Regions from separate parts of the Homo sapiens genome. Here regions 2 and 3 are each linked to region 1. The links are contacts of gene promoters, found by promoter capture Hi-C in blood cells and fetal thymus (Javierre and others, 2016). All regions are on one chromosome and are shown on one strand. The core of a region is centred on a gene start or on the middle of the fragment in contact, and the rest is flanking DNA. Distances in the headings are between cores, read along the strand shown.

The links. The method cuts DNA at HindIII sites, captures the fragments that hold promoters and counts their contacts. A CHiCAGO score of 5 or more calls a contact.
Region 2: a fragment that was not itself captured here is called in contact with the fragment with the promoter of BPIFC in region 1 in 4 of 17 cell types (M2 macrophages, M0 macrophages, M1 macrophages and 1 more); the score reaches 7.9 in M2 macrophages.
Region 3: a fragment that was not itself captured here is called in contact with the fragment with the promoter of BPIFC in region 1 in 3 of 17 cell types (M2 macrophages, M0 macrophages and M1 macrophages); the score reaches 7.5 in M2 macrophages.

The regions. Positions count from the first base shown.
Region 1 is chr22:32,462,151-32,466,530 of GRCh38, reverse strand. BPIFC (BPI fold containing family C) reads left to right here and starts at 2,085. Exons shown (of 17, transcript NM_174932.3): 1 at 2,085-2,157. The HindIII fragment of the contact is 5,490 bases long and covers 1-2,360 here.
Region 2 is chr22:32,009,167-32,013,546 of GRCh38, reverse strand. All of the region lies in intron 4 of LINC02558 (long intergenic non-protein coding RNA 2558), which reads right to left. Among named protein-coding and RNA genes, the nearest start is that of SLC5A1, 32 kb to the left of the region's middle. The HindIII fragment of the contact is 3,429 bases long and covers 794-4,222 here.
Region 3 is chr22:32,030,990-32,035,369 of GRCh38, reverse strand. The region is part of intron 4 of LINC02558 (long intergenic non-protein coding RNA 2558); the gene reads right to left. Among named protein-coding and RNA genes, the nearest start is that of SLC5A1, 10 kb to the left of the region's middle. The HindIII fragment of the contact is 3,737 bases long and covers 53-3,789 here.

The DNA.
Region 1 (4,380 bases), core at 836-3,335:
ACATCTCAGCGCAAATAATCACCTCCTCAGAGACGCCCACGTGGGTATCCTGATAAAATAAGCCCACCTCCCCCAGTTGCATTGCTCTACCTATTACAAGACCACCTTACCAACAACATTCCCTTAGTTCCGTCACAGTACATGTCACAATTTATACATTTTTGTTTATTTTATTGTTTGCTTATTTATTTTGTCTCCATCGACTAGAACATAAACTCCTCGTGGACAAAAATTTCATCTTTTTTGCTGAAGAGGACTTTGCACATTGTAGGTGCTCAGTAAATCTGTTGATTGAATGAATGAATTCATCTATGATGACCGACAATAAATGATCCCATGAAGAGCGTCTCTGCACCGTATCATTATTGATACGGCCACGTGCTAATGAGTAGAATTTCACAGCAGTTTACAGTTTTAATAGCGCATTCTCATGTGTTATTATGTTTTTCTTCACCAGAACCAATCAAGGAAGTTACTATTTCTATCCCCACTTTACCTTAAGGAAACTCAGTTCAAATCAGTAAGTATAACCCAAGGTATAACTCCCCTGAGAAGCTGTGAGAAGTATGGACAATGCCAAGTGAAAGCGTCTGTGGTTCCTTTCAGACTGACTTATCATCCTGATTTTCCCAGGACTGTTCTGGTTTTAGTACTGAAAATCCTGCATTCTTGGGAAACCAGGACAGTTGGTCACCGGGTCTTACCCAGAAAAGTGTAGATAAGCCATAAGAACTTCATGCAATCAGGCTGGGTGCGGTGGATCATGCCTGTAATCCCAGGACTTTGGGAGGCCAAGGCAGGTGGATCACTTGAGGTCAAGAGTTCAAGACCAGCCTGGCCAACATGGTGAAACCCCATCACTACTAAAAATACAAAAATTAGCCAAGTTTGGTGGTGCACACCTGTAATTCCAGCTACTCAGAGGGCTAAGGCACAAGAATCGCTTAAACCCTGGAGGCAGAGGTTGTAGTGAGCCAAGATCATGCCACTGCACTCCAGCCTGGGTGACAGTGAGACTGTCTCAAAAAAAAAAAAACCAAAAAACAAAAAAAAAAACTTCATACAATCAAATCCCTGGCCATCTAAAATACATTAATGGCCGGGTATGATGGCTCACATCTGTAATCCCAGCACTTATGAAGCCAACACGGGTGGATCAATCACATGAGGTCAGGAGTTCGAGACCAGCCTGGCCAATGCAGCGAAACCCTGTCTGTACTAAAAATACAAAAAATTAGCTGGGCGTGGTAGCGCACTCCTGTAATCCCAGCTACTAGGGAGGCTGAGGCAGGAGAATTGTTTGAACCCAGGGGGCGGAGGTTGCAGTGAGCCAAGATCGCTCCACTGCACTCCAGCCTGGGTGACAGAGTGAGACTCCATCTCAAAAAATAAATAAATAAAAATAAAAATAGATAAAACACATTAACTAAAATGAATTTATTGGAGATGAGAGTAGGGCTGGAGTTTGGAATCTGAAAATGTTAAGTTGCATAATAGTTGATGAACCCACCCACCCAACTTAGGTTTAAGGAATGCTGGAACAGTAAGTCATTAATAACATTCTGAAAAGGAGCGGACGGACACTGAGAGATGCCAACTGAGGTCCTACCCTGAGTGATAAGGTAACTAGGTCAGCCCGATTGTCAAGCCTCATGCTTTCAGACTGAATCTGATGATCCACCACAAGTCCCAAAGGTATTCTGGGCAGTAGTAGAGCCATCCACCGCAGGCACCCTGACCAGAAGGAACCAGCTTATGATTCCAGACAGGAAAATTCTTCCTCTTCCAATGCAGTTTAACACCGTTTTCAATCATTTTGGTAAAGTAGCCATCACAATTTCACAAGTGGTGTGTGTGTGTGTGTGTGTGTGTGTGTGTGTGTGTTTTGCAGGAAGATAATTATTGCATAGGTGGCACTGTCTGTTTATCTAGGTAGATACTGTAGTGCTCATTCATGCCATTGGGTAATTGTAGTGAAGCAATTATGTATCACATTTTGAAAGAGGCATTAAAAAAATTCACCACTGAGATGAGTCAGACTTAATTATCTTGGCTTTTTAGCAGCTGAGTTTAAGGCGCAAGGTGGAGAACACATCAGCTTCAAAGGCAGAGAGAATCGAAGGTGCTCTCCAGCTTTGGACACTTCCTCTGCTTGAGGTAAGACTCATGAACAAACTTCAGGTCTCTGCCAGCCATGATCTCCAAACTGGAGATGTCCCAGATTTGGTAGGACACTTTGAACAGGCAGCTGTCATATATCCTGGGTTATTATTATTGTCTGCCTAGATTTTTCTGTATCTTTGTTTGTTTGTTTGTGTGATGTCACATATGCGCACCTGGAGGCTTCTTAGGCAAAAGCTTTAGTGACAGCTAAACAGCCATAAGAGAGAAAAGAGTTGGTTTAAACCACCTACTTAGTTTTGCATCATGGAACAATGTTAAGAGGGTTGCTCAGTGATCTGGACTTATTTTTGCCTCCATTTCAGAGGGGAACCCAGCACAGTGGCAGAAAATTCTATCTTGTCTCTCAAAATCAGCATGGTTAGGACTAAGGAGTTGTTATAATCTCTGTGCTTTCAAGGCAGGTCTTAAAGCACATCAGTGACCTAGATCCTGCCAGAGCAAAACTAGCCACCCACTTGCCTGGACTGTTGAACTTGTTGGTGTTAGGCATAGAGTTTTGGGGAAAAGACATGCTATGAATTCTCAAGGTCCTTGTCATTAGAGATGTTGCTATAAAACTAGATGTGAGGAGTGGATCCCTTGAAATATTCTGCCCACGTTCCATACCTGTCGATTTAGACTTCTTATGTACGGTCATTTTGTCTTAACCAATATGTCGGAATACCCTTCTAGTTTAGACTTCTTTAAACCTGTTGAACTTAATTTTTCAACCTGCGCCTCTGTTTTGAAGGCTACATTTTACTCATTCATTACTCCCTTAATCGGTTTTTCCAGAGTCAGTCAAAGCTCTTGCCAAGCAGCAGTAGTAGTAGGACCATCTGTGAGTTTCAGGTGTTTTCTAAATTGGACTGGCATTTTCTTAGCTGTCAGGATGACTCACACAAGGACCATTTAATTTAGGAGTATTATTCTGTCTGTGTATTTGTATGGAAAAATAATGACTACTGAGATTTTGAATCTTGGAAAGAAGCAATTCCCCAGAAGCAACAAAATAGATAACTTGCTGGTGGGGTTTTTAAGTGATCTTGGATCCTTTTAACAGGCAACTAGCCCTGCCTGCACTTGTCAGCCAAATTACTTAACCTTTTAGTAGTCATCACCTTGCTTGACAAGGTTCCTTTCCTCCCCTGCCCATAAGTTATCATCGTAACTGAACAATTCAATGAAAAGTTATGTACAATTCACCCCTTCATACCCCAGTAATTTCTTTCACTCATAAAATTTCTAGAGGAAAAATATGTTTTCCTGCCTGTAATTTTGGATTCCTGGATCTCCATCAAAGTGTACCACTTCAGAAACTTTTTTTAACCAAGAAGGGAAAACAGGTTTTACTGCTGGCAGGGAATTTAAAACTCCAGTTGTGTCCAAGAAAATAAGAAGGGATTTGCACTGTGATGCTTGAACGTTTCTAGATGCTTATTGAATTTTTCCACCTTGAAAATGGTGTTTGGTTTTCTGTGCACATGTACCCTAGAACTTAAAGTGTAATAAAAAAAATTGAGTAACTTTTAAACAACAACAACAAAAAGGAAAATGGTGTCAAGCAACTCCTATTTAAAATTCCCAGATGAAAATGAAAACCCTAGCATGTATCGAGTCATTCAATAAAAATAAATTCATCAACACTAGAATTAGGAACCAGAAGAACAAGGTTGGGTTCCCAGGTGCCTTACTTACTGTGGGATCTTGGACGAGTCATCAGATTCTCTAAGCCTCCATGTCCACGTGTCTAAAATGGGAGTAAGATAATAAGAACATCCACTTCAAAGAACTGTGAGTTTTGTAAAGGGTAAAGAAATAAAAATTTATTATTTTAGTTGTTATTCCATTCACAAGTAATATTTCTTCTCTGGTTTATTATGTTTTTTTCACTATAGAAATGGAGAGCTCTATATTATATATGATAGTTTGGTTTTTCCTTTTTTTCTAACCATTTGTAGAACCTTTCTTAGTTGACTGGAATCTTTTAAGTCAGTCAGTTGATCAGTTAGCACATATTAATTTGGGTCTTACCATGTGCCAGGGAGAGATATCATGTCTGCCTTAATTTGCACACAGTCTAATAGGTACAGACATTTTGGTCTTAACATTCTTTCCCATTGCATTCCATTGCTATGAAAATATTTTTCTTTTTTTTTTCTTTTTTTTCTTTTTTCTTTTTTTTTTTTTTTTTTTTTTGAGATGGAGTCTCGCTCT
Region 2 (4,380 bases), core at 1,259-3,758, 450 kb after region 1:
GTGGGAAAATCACCTGAGCCCAGGAAGTCAAGGCTTCATCAAGGTTTCAGCGAGCCATGATCACATAACTGCACTGCAGCCTAGGCAACAGAGTAAGACCCTGTCTCAAAACAACAACAACAAAAATAAAAGGTTCTAGGAAAAAAAAAAACCTACCAACCAAGAATACCATACCCAGCAAAACTGTCCTATAAAAATGAAGGAAAGACAAACAAAAACTGAGAGGGTTAATCACCACTAGACTTGCCTTATAGGAAGTGCTAAATAAAGTTTTTCAAGTTGAAATGAAAAGATGCTAAACAGCAACATGAAAGCATATGAAAGTACAAAACTTGCTAGTAAAGGTAAATATATGGTCAAAAACATAATAACATAATAAAGTAATGGTGATGTATAAATTATTTCTAACCCTAGTATAAAAATTAAAAAGGGAATAAAAATAACTTTGTCGGCCGGGCACGGTGGCTCATGCCTGTAATCCCAGGACTTTGGGAGGCCAAGGCAGGCAGATCACTTGAGGTCAGGAGTTCGAGACCAGCCTGGCCAACATGGTGAAACCCTGTCTCTACTAAAAATACAAAAATTAGCTGGGCGTGGTGGCAGTCGCATGTAATCCCAGCCACTCGGGAGGCTGAGGCAGGAGAATTGCTTGAACCCAGGAGGCAGACGTTGCAGTGAGCCGAGATCATCCCACTGCACTCCAGCCTGGGCGACAGAGCAAGACTCCAGCTCAAAAAAAAAAAAATCTTGTCAGCTTTAAAATAAACTGTTATAACTATATTTTATGCAAGCTTCAGGGTAAACACAAAAAACCTACAATAGATACACAAAATATTGAGAGAAAATAATCAAAGCATATCACTACCAAAAAAAATCATCAAATCACAAAGAAAGAGAGAAGAAACAAAGAATCTACAAAATGGAAAACAAGAAAATGACAGCAGTAAGTCCTTACCTATCAATAATTACTTTTAAATGTAAATGAATTAAACTCACCAATCAAAAGACATATAGTGGCTGAATGGACTTAAAAAAACAAAACGATTCAACTAAGTGCTATCTACAAGAGTTTCATTTTAGATATAAGAGCATACAGGTTAAAATTGAGGAGATGGAAAAAGACCCATGCAAATGGTAGCCAAAAGAGAGCAACTGTGGGAACTGATATTAGACACAATAGACTTTTAAGTCAAAAACTGTCACAAGCGGCTCACGCCTGTAATCCCAGCACTTTGAGACACTGAGGTAGGAGGATCGCCTGAGGTCAGGAGTTTGTGCCAGCCTGGCCAAGATGGTGAAACCCCATCTCTACTAAAAATACAAAATTTGGCCGGGCATGGTGGGAGGCACCTATAATCCCAGCTACTCAGGAGGCTGAGGCAGGAGAATCACTTGAACCCCGGAGACAGAGGTTGCAGTGAGCTGAGATCATGCCACTGCACTCCAGCCTGGGTGAGAGAGCGTGACTCCATCTAAAAAACAAACTGTCACAAGTGACAAAGTAGGTCGTTATACAATGACAACAGTATCAACTCAATAGGAAGATACAGCAATTATAAATATATATGTGCCCAACATCACAGTACCTAGATAGAAGCATTAAGGGATCTGAAGGGAAAAATAGAGAGCAATGCAACAATATGTAGGAGACTTCAGTACCTCACCTTCAATAATGGATAGGTTACCCAGACAGAAAATCAATAAGGAAACACTAGACTTGAACAACACTGTATACCTAAAGTACCTAATAGAAATGTACACAACGTTCCACCCAACCGCAATAGAATACGCATTCTTCTGAAGTGCACAAAGAACATTCTTCAGGATAGAGCACATGCTAGGTCATAAGAAAAGTTTTAACAAATTTAAGAAGATTGAAATCATATCAAATATGTATCTTTTCTGGCCAGAGAGGTATGAAACTAGAAATCAATAACAGAATTTCAGAAAATTCACAAACACATGGAAATTAAATAATATGTTTCTGAACAACCAATGGCTCAAAAAAAGGGGGAAACTTTGAGGCAAATGCAAATGGAAACACAGCATACCAAAATTTATAGGATATGACAAAAGCAGTTCCTTTTTTTTTTTTTTTTGAGATGGAGTTTCACTCTTGTTGCCCAGGCTGGAGTGCAATAGCACAATCTCGACTCACTGCAACCTCCACCTGCCAGGTTCAAGTGATTCTCCTGCCTCAGTCTCCCGAGTAGCTGGGATTACAGGCATATGCCACCATGCCCGGCTAATTTTGTATTTTTTTTTTTTTTTAGTAGAGATGGGGTTTCTCCATGTTGGTCAGGATGGTCTCGAACTCCCGACCTCAGGTGATCCACCCGCTTCAGCCTCCCAAAGTGCTGGGATTACAGGTATGAACCACCACACCCAGCCTTCTTTTTCTTTTTAGTTTTTGTTTGTTGGTTGGTTGGTTGGTTGATTGGAGACAGGGTCTCACTCCGCTAACCAGGCTGTGCAGTGGCATGGTTTCAGCTCACTGCAGCCTCAACTTCCCTAGCTCAAGTGATCCTCCCACCTCAGCCTCCCGAGTAGCTAGGACTACAGGTGTATGTCACCACACCTGGCTCATTTTTTTAAATTTTTTGTAGAGATGAGTTCTCACTATGTTGCTCAGGCTGGCCTTGAACTCCTGGGTTCAAACAATCCTCCCGCTTCAGCCTCCCAAGGTGCTGGGAGCCTTGGGCCCGGCCCACAATTTTAATAGATGATGTAATTGACTATCCTATTTCAAGTTCTGTGAGATTTCAAACAGTTACAAGTAATTTTGTTTCCTTGCAGTGCTTCTAAGATCATGGCAGTGTGTTACACTAGAAAGGGCGGGGCTCAAAATCCTAACCCTAACTTTATAGGTATGGACTTTCCACAACTTTTCTGCTACACCCTAGGTTCCCTCTTTTAAGTTCTTTTTAAAAGAGGCACAATAGAGGCAATAATCTGGTTATTGCAATCAGACTCTATTACAAGACTCTAGGAATCCTAAACTCCTCTTTCCCCTTAGATGACATTGCTTTCATTCAATCCTTTTATGATGTTTGGTATATGTATATGTAAAGTACTGTTATATGTGCAGTGGGGTCATGAAAAGTTGAGTCTTGGCCTTCAGGTTGCTCATAATACCTTCTGGGAAGCCTTCCAGCAAAAAAGAGTGTAACACTCCTCTGACCCATGGGAGGACCTCTTCACCCCCTTTTCTTCCCACCTTCACCTTAGCTGGTATGACCTGGTGTTCTCCAATTGCCTCTCTTCACATCTCTATGCCGTTGCTCATCTCTCCCTCATTCAATTTCAGCCTTCAGAAATCCTACCCACCCTTCAAGGCTCAGTTCCAAGCTGCCCCCTCCAAGAAATTTTCCTGGAACTTCCCAGGTCCATTATTCTCTCTCTTTGTCTCTGTTTTCATCTGTTCTGACATTATCACACTCCTTGTATTGTACTTATTTGTGTGCGCGTTTTAGTTTAGATCTCTGCCCTTTTTAACAATTAATTCCACTGTATAGCTTTAATTAACATTCTGCTTTTGAACCTTTCTTTCTCCCTCTCTGGAGGTAACTATCATCTTGAAGTTACCAGTTATCATCCCTATGGTCATTTTATACTTCATTTCCACATATGTTTGCACCCATGAACCTTCTATTTCTGTCTTTGTCTATCCATAAAACACATACACACATTGATAAAGTTTTTGGTGCTTTATTTATGTATTTATGGAGATAGAGTCTCACTCTGTTGCCCAGGTTGGAGTGCAGTGGCACTATCTTGGCTCACTCCAACCTCCGCCTCCCGGGTTCAAGCAATTCTCATGCCTCAGCCTCCCTAGTAGCTGGGACTACAGGTGCACGCCATGCCCAGCTAGTTTTTGTATTTTTAGTAGAGACAGAGTTTCACCACAGTGGCCAGGCTGGTCTTGAACTCCTGGCCTCAAGTGATCTGCCTGCCTTGGCCTCCCAAAATGCTGGGATTACAGGCATGAGCCACTGTGTTCACCCAGTTTTTGGTGCTTTAAAAATGCATATAAGTGCAAGCACATGACACTATACTGTTTTGTTTACTATGGCTTTATAGTGTCAGTCCTCTTCATCTTCAATATTATGTTGGCTATTATAGGTTTTTTGTCTGCATATAAAATTTAAAATCAGTTTCTTGATAGCCCAAAATAACTTGCTGGGGTTTTGATTGAGATTGCATTGAATCTATAGATCAAGCTTAGAAGAATTGGACAACTTGACAATATTGGGTCTTTCTATTTATTTAGTTCTTCTTTCTTCAGAGTTTTGTCCTTTTCCTCATACAGTTCTTGGTACATAATTTGTTAGATTTATACCTAAGTATTTCATTTTGGGGTGCTAATATAAATTGGTATTA
Region 3 (4,380 bases), core at 672-3,171, 430 kb after region 1:
TTTCTAAAAGCACAAAGTGGGAACACAACCATTGCTGGTAGAGCAGCAAGCTTCTTCCTGGACACTTATCACCCAGTAGACTCAGCAGGGGCCTCACAGTTGGGCACACTTGGCTGCAATTCTGGCTCACCCTCTCATTATCTAGGTAACCTCACAATACATTGTCTAACTTCTGAGGACCTCATTTGCAAAATGGAGATGATAACATCTAAGATAAATGAGAGAGCATATGGAAAATGTTTCAGCACACTGACAAGCACATATTTAATGCTCAATAAAATGATTCACTTTTATCTTTCTTATTATTGACACCTTATCTAGACTCAAAGATGGAGTCTTGAGGTGGGGCCCTGACCTCACAGAGCAGGAGACAGACACAAAGAAGAATATATGAACTATGTCTTGTGACAAGGGGTACAGCTTCAATCTTCACAATGACCCTATTGCTATCCCCATTTTACCGACAAAAGCACTGAGACTCAAAAGGGTTAAGTTACTTGACCGAAATCCCTCGGCTGGTAAAAGGCCAAGCTGGCGCTCAACTCCCTGTACCAAAGCCTGTACCACTAGTGCAGAGAGGAGGAAGAGGAGGGAATACAGCAAGGAGAAGTGAAGCCTTAGTCCCAATTCTGAGGCTACTCCAAAGCCAGCATCCCTCTAGTCCTTCTCCCACTTCACCTCCAGTTTGACACTTGGACCCAGCTGTACGAAAGTGAGAGGCATTTCAATGAGTCATTAATTATAACAAATGCAGGCAAAAGTCAGCAGTGTAATGTAGGCATCATCGTCTGCCAAACACCTTGGTTTTCTGAAAACTCAGAGCCCAGGATGAGAGCAGGTGGAGTGGGAAGGTTAGATGTCACTCAGCACCTGCAGAAGTCGTCTCTCTGTGAGCCATGTCTCAGTGTGACTGTTACCCCACAGACCTCAGCTCCCTCTGCAATGTAAGATGAGGCAGAGAAGCAGCTCCCGAGAGGAGGTGGCCCACAGGCCTGCAGGCACTGCTGAGGACCTCACCACGGCACTCACCTGTGAGCCTCATCCCCCACACTGCCAGCTGACCACCCTTCAGTCAACCTGCCAGTGAGGCTGGGATTCCAGGAACACAAAAACCAGGCCAGGCACAGTGGCTCACACTTGTAATCCCAGCACTCAGGGGGCTGAGACAGAAGGATCACTTGAGCCCAGGAGTTAGAAACTGCAGTGAGTTATGATGGCATCACTGTACTCCAGCCTGGATGAAAGGGCAAGACCTTGTACAGTGATTAGTGTTTCTTGCTTCAGAGACAGGTGTGACCTCTTCAGAGGGTGGTACCAGCCTCTGTAGGCCAAACTCCTGAATTGAGCAGGTAAAAACATGCTCCTGCCTGAGTTGGAGGAATGAAGGAACATCATCCAAAGGCCCAGTGTTACTTCCCATATCTTGGAATTATGGAACTGGGGCAGATGAGTGGATCATCTGAGGACACTGAGCCCAGGAAAGAGGTGAGGCTTACTCAAGGTCACAGGTCATGACAGTGGCAGAGAATCCCGGGGCTCTGCTTCCCACCACAGGTTCCCTCTCATTTGGCAAATAACTTATCAAGCACCAGCTGTTTTCAGGGTACAATGGTGCTGCAACTTGCCTCTGTGCTCCTTATGTTGTGCCTTCTGTTTGGCTCTTCCAGTTTGCCCCTTCAAAATTCCAGGCACATAGTAGGAGCATGATTATTTATTAGTAATATTGGCTTATTAATTGGATTGTTATGTTATCCAGTTAATAAGCCCACATGTAATAGTTAATACTATTAATACTATTACATGCTAATGAGATAATTATATTATCCAATTAATAAGCCAATATTAGTAGTTAATACTATTCATACTATTACATACTAATGAGATAACATGGTATATGCTTAGCACAATGCATATGTTATATCATTAGTCATTACAATAAATTTGTGAAATAGATATTGTGACCCCTGTTTTACAGAGGAGAAAACTAAGTCTTAGAATGGTTAATTTGTTCAAAGTTACACTACTAACAAGTGATAGAGCTTAGACTCATACTTAGGTCTATCAGACTCCAAAACTTTCTTCAATAATTATTATTTTTATTTTTTAGAGACAGGGTCTTGTTCTGTTGCCCAGGCCAAAGTGCAGCGGCATGAGCATAGCTCACTGTAGTCTTGAATTACTGGGCTCAAGTGATCCTCCTGCCTCAGCCTCCCAAGTAGCTGAGACTGCAAGTGTGCACCACCATGTCTGGCTAATTTTTAAAAGTTTTTGGAGAGATGGGGTCTTGCTATCTTGCTCAGACTGGTCTTAAACTCCTGTCCTCAGGCAATTCTGCTGCCGTGGCCTCCCAAAACTCTGAGATTACAGGTGTGAGGCAACACATCCAGCCTCTGTTCAAGAAATTGTTGCTGAAAGAAAGAATGAATCAGTGAGCAAAAGGCACCATACTGGGCTTATGGGAAGCATTTGGACCAGTTGTTTATGTATTTTGCTAATGCATCCTGCTAGGTGAGGAAACAGGTACATAAATACTAAGGCCTAATATAGATCCACCCATAATAGGTTCAGAATAGTGCTTTGAGGTTCCAGAGAAGGGAGCAATTTCTTCCATTGGGAGTGGAGTGTGAGGAAGTTTAACGGGTGAGAGGGCATTTGAACCAAGCCAAGTAGGATTCGGACAGGAAAAGGTGGCAGATGGGGCAGTGGGCAAGGTAGTCCCGCAAACTCATTGGAAGAAACAGCACTGATGAAATTCAGGAGAAGGGAGATCCTGGGGCAACCAGTCCAGCTGAGCTGGACTAAGGATGTGTGAGGAGAGGAGGTGGGGGGATGGGAAGCCAGAAACAGGTTGGCACCAGGTAGTGGAGGACCTTGAATATCAGGCTGGGGCCTTTGGGTTTTCTTCAGTAGATGTGGGGAGCCCCTGACAATTTTGGGTCAGAGAGTGACATGGCTCATTATGCCGGATGGAGTGAAGGAAGGAGAGACTTGGAGGAGGGAGACCAGAAGAGACTGTTGCAGTAATCCAGGGAGGGATGATGTGGCCTGGCCTAGAAGAAGCATTCTAAAGGAATACTCCATGGGGTCCAGAAACTGGCTAAGGGATGAAATGCGTGCAAGAGTCAAAGAAACAGCATGGGGTCAGAAGGCCTGAGTTCTGATTCCAGCTGAGTCACATGGCCTCCCTGGGCCTCCCTGTCCCACTTGTGAAAGGTAGGGGATGAGTTATGCCATGTTTAGCGGCTTTTCCAGGGATTATGTTCAAAGTACTCTCTAATTTCCTGGTCTTCAAAAGATGCTGAGCGAGTTGTGACTGAGGCAAGCAGATTTTGGAGGTGCAGACCAGCTGGCTTCCTTGGGGTGGTGAGCTGATTCTGAGCTCCTCTGTGAGGTAGCTGAGTATCCGTGTATAGTGTTACACATGGATAGTCAGGAAACTGCAATAACCGTGTTAGCTACTCTGCTCCCTTAAGCGTTTTTTGCAGCAGAGGTGTGTTGGCATGACTTAGGTTATTGCCTAAATTGTGTATCTCCAGAGAGGGGAGTGTGCGGCTTCTCGACTTCTCAAAGTACCAACTCACTAGTCGATAAGGCTCAAGTTATGGGACTTGCAAAGGATCACAGAGAAAGATCTAAAGTGTCAGAAATCTAGAGAACTCCCCGGAGTCTCCTCTCAGTTCCTCCACCCACAGGCTGTCAACGCTTCAGGTTCCATCCAGAACCTGAGTCTGACACAGCTGGAGATGTGGTGAGAGGCCCCAGTAGCATGATGCAGGAACCCCAGAAGCTTAAAGGCCAATGGGCTGAGGAATTAGGAAGATGGTGGAGGCAGGTTGCTGAGAAGCAGAGAGGGGAGGGGACTTGTTAGGGTGACACAGTGAGTCAGGTGAAACAAGGACTGGAAGCCAGAGTTTTGAGTTCTTTCTCAGATGTTTCTTTATTCTTTCTTTCCCCAAGGACACCCTCTCTGGGCATATATATACACATATGTGTGTATATGTATGTGTATATGTATATGTACAGAGTGACACCCTGTCTCAAAAAATATATGTAAATATATACACATATGTAAATATATATGTATATATGTAAAAAATATACACATATACATACACACACACACACACACACACATGTCTCACTTTGTAGCCCAGGCTAGAGTGTGAACACCACTCACTGCTGCCTCAACCTCCTAACCTCAAGTGATCCACCCACCTCAGCCTCCCAAAGTGCTGGGATTATAGGCATGAGCCACCACACCTGGCCAACACATATTTTTAATGTGCATTTATGAGCAATGGGTTCAAAATCTAGTTATGTCCTTCATTAGCTGTGCGATATTGGGCGAGTTACTTAATCTCTCTAAATCTCAGTTTCCTT